Regions from separate parts of the Homo sapiens genome. Here region 2 is linked to region 1. The links are contacts of gene promoters, found by promoter capture Hi-C in human tissues and cell types (Jung and others, 2019). All regions are on one chromosome and are shown on one strand. Each heading gives the region's core, a stretch centred on a gene start or on the middle of the fragment in contact. The rest is flanking DNA. Distances are from core to core; before and after follow the strand shown.

Region 1 (2,700 bases), core at 111-2,610:
CCCCACCCGGGGACCAGGCTCCAAGCATCACAGGTGCAGAAAGACTTGCAAAAAGGAATGAATAGGAACAAAAGGATGTAGGCGCCAGGAGGAAAACAGGATCTTCCAGAACAAAATTAATCTCGCAAGGCATAGCAGATCCAACACCAGATTATTACCAAAGTTTAAACTTTTTCAATGGTCATCAGAGATAGCGTATCAAGTTTATTAGGTCTTTCACTACGGCTGATTTGCTTAAACCTTTATGTTATGCTTATCTTGAGGGATAGATTTCTGTGCTAAGCACATAATAGGTGTTAAACCAATATTGATTTTTAAAAGGAGGTGGTCATTAAATAGAAATTTTACTGTTATTTTAACCTTTAAATTTATGGCCCAAGGGCCAAACGATGATTTGTACGATTCCCTAGTTTCAATACTTGTGAGTTATTACAAGAAATACAACTCTGCTATGCAACAGAAGAACCGCAAATAGTCATTAAATTACCGCACACCAAGCAGCTTGGAGATCAGATAGGAAATGTTTGGGGAGAGAGTCCTGCTGAAGTTCCAAGTCTCAAACAAAACCCCTCAACATCAGAGTGCATGGTGAGTTTAAATTTATTGTAATTAAAGTCATCCAGATGGTAGTTGGATTAATCAATGAAGAGGTGGTTATCTATCTTGGGATAGAAGATTCTGAAACCCAGAGCGAGAAAAATCCCCAAGGTGGGGGTGGGGACAGTTAATAAGAGCCCTTGGGAAAGGCCCTTTCAGCGAGGATTGGAAAATAATACGTTTGAATTTGAATCTCTTTGAATATAAATCTCCCCTAACAGCAGGAAAAGGGTCCTCTAGCCCAGCAAGCTTTGGGGAGGGAGTAAGCGGAACTGCAAAAGAGCTCGCTCAGCTGTTTCTGGATTGGGGCGCAGAGAAAGAAATCGCGATCAGGGAACTGAGTACTGGAGTCCCTCAAAATAACCCGAAGGGTCAAATAGTGAGCTCCAAGCAAAGCGTTGACCCGGCTACCCCTGAGCAGCGCCCTACGCTGGGTTCCACTCCACTTCCCCTCCCCCGCGCGGGGCGATAGCCAGGCGCGGTCCCTTCCCACGCGGGCCGCGGCGAGTGCGGACAGCTCCCTTCCGGGCTGCGGAAGGCGGGAAGTCTGCGGTTCGCGGGCTCCGGCTGGCGGGCGCCCCTCGGAGTCCCTGAAGTCGGCCGGGCCCCGCAGGACCCGCGCCTTCTCGGCCCCAACTGTCCCTCGCGAAGCGTCCTGCGGTGGCGGAGGCCTCGCGGCCGCCCGCCAGCCCCGCGAGCGGCAAGCGCGGGGCTCAGAGGGGAGGCGGGGCAAGGCCGCGGGGCGGAGGGGGGCGGGAGGTGCATCCTGGGAAATCCACCAACATGGGGCGCAGCGGCCGCCGCCGCCGCCGCCGTCGCCGCGAGTCCCGGCCGCGGGTGCCTCCGCTTCCCTGACGCCCAGCTGGGGCCTCGCCGCCCGCCGCGGCCCGGGTCTTTGCGGCCCAGACTCGCCAGCGCGCCCTTCTCCCGCCTGCTCGCCGGGGCCATGTGAGGGGGCAGCTCCCTCCACCGCCGCCGCCCCCTCTTCCTCCCCCGCCCCCTCTCCCTGCCCGCCCCCGTCACACGGAGCCCTGGAGGATCCCCCGCTGCTGCCCGCCCTCCCTACGCCACCCCCACGATGGACAGGAACTACGCGACCTCGGGCTTCACCGAGCCGCCGCCGCCGCCGCCGCCCGCGCCCCCCGCCGCCCCCGTCCCCGCCAGCGCCGCTGCGCAGCCCCCCGCCCCAGCCTGGGCGTACGAACCCCGAGCCGCCGCCGCCGCCGCCAGCAGCAGCTGCAGCAGTGGCAGCTGCAGTAGCGGCAGCAGCCCCAGCCTCAAGGCCAGGTAGGGAGGGTGGGCGGCGGGGTCGCGGTGGACCAGGAAAGGCCGGGGATGCGTTTGGGGCCTTCGCTCGGTTGCAGCGCCGCCCAGAGGTCTGGGCCGGGCGGGGAGCCCTCCGCTCGCCCTCGGCCAGCTCGGGGGAGGCGGCTGATGACTCCTACGGGGTGGTCGCGGGTAGGTGGGGGCGCCCGGTGCAGGATTCGCGCCTGGGGACGGCGGGTGAAGGAATAGCTGGGCGGGAGTCGTGGGGCTCCGTCACCTCTTGGGTCCTGGGCTCTCACATGGTGAAGTTTGGGCTCGTGGCTGAACTCGGGATCTGTGAGACCCAGGATTGGCGCCGGGGGTCCGAAGGGGGCGCCGGAGAGTTTGGGGCAGTGGCGATCCATTGTATTGGAACCTGGGTGGCCGACAATGCGGTCTTGGGGACTCCGGCGTGTGAGGGTTGCGGAGGCGGGAGAGGAAGAGTCGCGGAACCGCGTCCCGGAGACACTGGGGGGCCCGGGAGGGCTGGGCTACGGGAGAATCCCCGGGGCGCAGGGCAGAAGAGGGGGCCCGGCAGGGCGCGAACGCGGCTCCAGGGCCGGGTGACATATGTTTGCGCTGGTGGCCAAGATTTAGGCGATTTTTCTTCCACGCGTTCAAAGTTGCTCTTAGGTTTCCTCCCCTTTTAACAACAGCAGGAAGTAAGGAATCTTTCTTTGCCTTCTATGCCTCGGGGTGACTGAGAGTTGGGAAGAAATGGGGCGGGGGTTGGGGTGGGGGTAGTGAAGGCCGTAAAGGTTGAAGAACCAAAGCATGCTTCTCCATCTCGGCCTTTAA
Region 2 (2,902 bases), core at 73-2,572, 1.2 Mb after region 1:
TGAATATCCAGAGTTATCTTATACTTCTAACTACTACCACAACTACCATCCTAGCACAGGTGACTACAATAGCTTATAATTGTTCTCCTTTTTCTACTTTTGCCTTCCTGTGATTTAGTTTTTGCATAACAGGAAGCCTTTTAAGAGGGCAAAGCAGATTTTCTCATTTCCCTGTCCCCCACAAACTCCAGTGGTTTCTCATCATGACTAGAATTAAATTCTAAATCTGGTCCTTCACTTGCCCACTGCTTTGGCCACACTGACTGCTTTGCCAGGACTCCCCCATCTTGGAGCTTTTGTATGTACATCTTTGGCACGGGGAAGTTTTTCACTCATATTCTCAGGGCTCATTCTTTCTAAATTTCAGGTCCTTGTTCCATCCAGTGTCACCCCGTCAGAGGCCTTCAGTGTTCGTTTCTAAAATAGTATCCTTAGTCACTTTACTCACTGGATACTTCTGCTTAATAGCATTTAAAACTTAACCTAGAATTAACCACGAGGGGCAGGAACATTTTGGACACTATCCCTTGTGAGCAGAATAGTGCGTGGGCATATTCACATTTTGCTGAATGAACTAAAAAATTTCATGATGGATGTTGGATTAAATGGGTAGTGCTGCTGATGACATTAAAAGTGTATCTGGGGAAGGGGTTTGGATTCAGACATTTGCGGTATCCAGGAGGAAACATCAAGCAGTTGATAATGTTTTTTGAAGTTCAGCGATCTGCCCCAAAGTCAAGAATGCAACACTATGTATAGGTTGTCCCTGTAGTCATGTTCTTGGAGTTCACTGGAAGCCCAGGGGGAGTAATTTCATTTGACGACCATATACAGGCCTAATGGGAGCCTGCAAAGTACAGCGGCCGCAGTCATGGGTAGATTACAGGATTCCCATCTGTAAGATCAGTACTGTGGGGGTGGAGGGCCAAGCGAAACCAATAAAATAGGTCTGTTGGCCGAGTTTCCTCAACTTAACGGGGATCGGTTAAATTGAACACAAATCGTTGGATCCGTCGCGTTTCGCGTAACCAGGCTGACGCTGAAAACCCTGGACCTACGTGGGCAGGCCCTGGGGTGCGGACATCTATTTTGCCCTTCTTAGCCGAGGTACTTTAGCTGGGATATGAAGAGTGAAGAGGCAAACCGCAGCCAACACCCAGCTACCGCGAGCAGTGGGACTAAAATGCGCAACCGCAGTGGACATCTAGGCCTCAGCTCCGCTTCTGGTGGCTTACGTCATTACTCAGCGACAGCCTTGAGGAAGGTCCCTTCTCGCTCGCCATCTCTGCGACTTTAATGCGCTTGCGCACGTGCTGTCTACCAGTTCCTGAGAGGGACGCGTGCCGCGGAGCCAGGCTTACTACGTGACCCGGACACCAGGCATACGCTAGGGGCAGTCAGCTGTGCCTTCTCTTTCGGAGTTGTTCCGTGCTCCCACGTGCTTCCCCTTCTCCACTGGCTGGGATCCCCCGGGCTCGGGGCGCAGGTACCCAACGCGGGAGGGCCGGGTATGGATGCCAAGATCGGTGTCTGTGTTCTTCCTGGGTCGAGAGGGGACCGGCCTCAGGATGAAGGCTCTGCATCCGGACGGATACCTGGCCTACGCCGTTTGTCCTCCACCCCTCTTTTGGGGCGCTCCAAGATAACAGAATCACCTCTCCAATACGCAGCCGCTCTCGGCGCGTGCTTCTCGAGCGTCCTCGGGGATTTGCGTGGCTCGATAACCACCTCTAAGTAGTGCCTGTAACTGGGGAGTCGGGGTGAATGGGTGGGTGACAACAGTTGTTTTCCGTGGAGCTTGCCCGCAGTGCCTGGCTGCAGGTCTGGGCATTATACTTAGGGTAATCTGATTCCAGATCCTTCCACGTTCTTAAATCCTTCACTGTGCACATTCCTTTATACTCTTTATTCAGCAGTCACATTCAGGACTTGGTTTTGTTTGCCAGTGCACCTAAAATGGTGCCTGCCACATAGATGTTATGTGTAGATAGACGAATGAGTGAGCGAAAAATAATCATCTCCTTCAAGGCCTTCCCCATCCAGGCCTTCCATGACAGCTTCAGCCCATAGTAATCTCAGCCCTTCCTTCATCTGACCGGTCCCTCAGTATAGCTATTTTTTTTTTTTTTACATCTAATTTTACCTGTGTTCTTGTTCCTCATCTCATTCTCTTAAATACCTTCTTCAAGAAGAATGCAAGCTTGAAGTCAAGGGCCTTGTGGTACTACTTCTGGGGCTCCCACAGTAGCTAGAGCAAAAGGCAGCCCCCATTAATTAGTTGTTGATTGATTTTTGCGGGATCTTTATGTGGCCGGCAACACAAGGTTTACAAGTTGGGAAGATTGGCGAACTGGGAAGAGCTCAGGCTTTGGAGTCAGGAAGACTTGAGTGTGAATTCTGTCTGTCGTTTTTCTGCCTCGGGATATTTGAATTCTTTATACTTTCTCCTTTACGTATAAATTGGGGTCCTTGACAGTGACTTAGTGTTTTATAGTAAGACATATGCTAAAATCTGTTTGGATTGGAAGGTTAGAAGGGACAGTTAAGGTATGGTAAGTTTCAGTAAATGAGCTTTATGTTTATAATGCAGTAGGTACCAGAGTTTCTAAGTAGCATGTCACTTTTACATCTAAGTAGCATGTTACTTTTACAGTGATATTTCTGATGGTTTTTTTGATGTATTTATTGGGATGATGCAGTATTTTACTGTAGGTAATCACAGAACTTTTTTTTTTTTTTTTTTGAGACGGAGTCTCACTCTGTCGCCTAGGCTGGAGTGCAATGGCACACCATCTCGGCTCACTGCAACTTCCGCCTACCGGATTCAAGTGATTCTCTTGCCTCAGCCTCTCCTGCAGCTCCACTACCACTCCCGGCTAAGTTTTGTATTTTTAGTAGAGAC

The links. Contacts are between HindIII fragments. The study calls those that stand out against the background at their distance.
Region 2: a contact is called between the fragment with the promoter of NAT10 here and the fragment with the promoter of QSER1 in region 1, in 1 of the 25 tissues and cell types used here (hippocampus).

What each region holds. Positions count from the first base shown.
Region 1 is chr11:32,891,451-32,894,150 of GRCh38, forward strand. QSER1 (glutamine and serine rich 1) reads left to right here and starts at 1,361. Exons shown (of 13, transcript NM_001076786.3): 1 at 1,361-1,884. The coding sequence starts at 1,676. RefSeq lists an enhancer at 1-286 and silencers at 1,034-1,653, 1,734-2,133. The HindIII fragment of the contact is 5,594 bases long and covers 1-2,700 here.
Region 2 is chr11:34,104,307-34,107,208 of GRCh38, forward strand. NAT10 (N-acetyltransferase 10) reads left to right here and starts at 1,323. Exons shown (of 29, transcript NM_024662.3): 1 at 1,323-1,486. RefSeq lists an enhancer at 1,076-1,535. The HindIII fragment of the contact is 6,988 bases long and covers 1-2,902 here.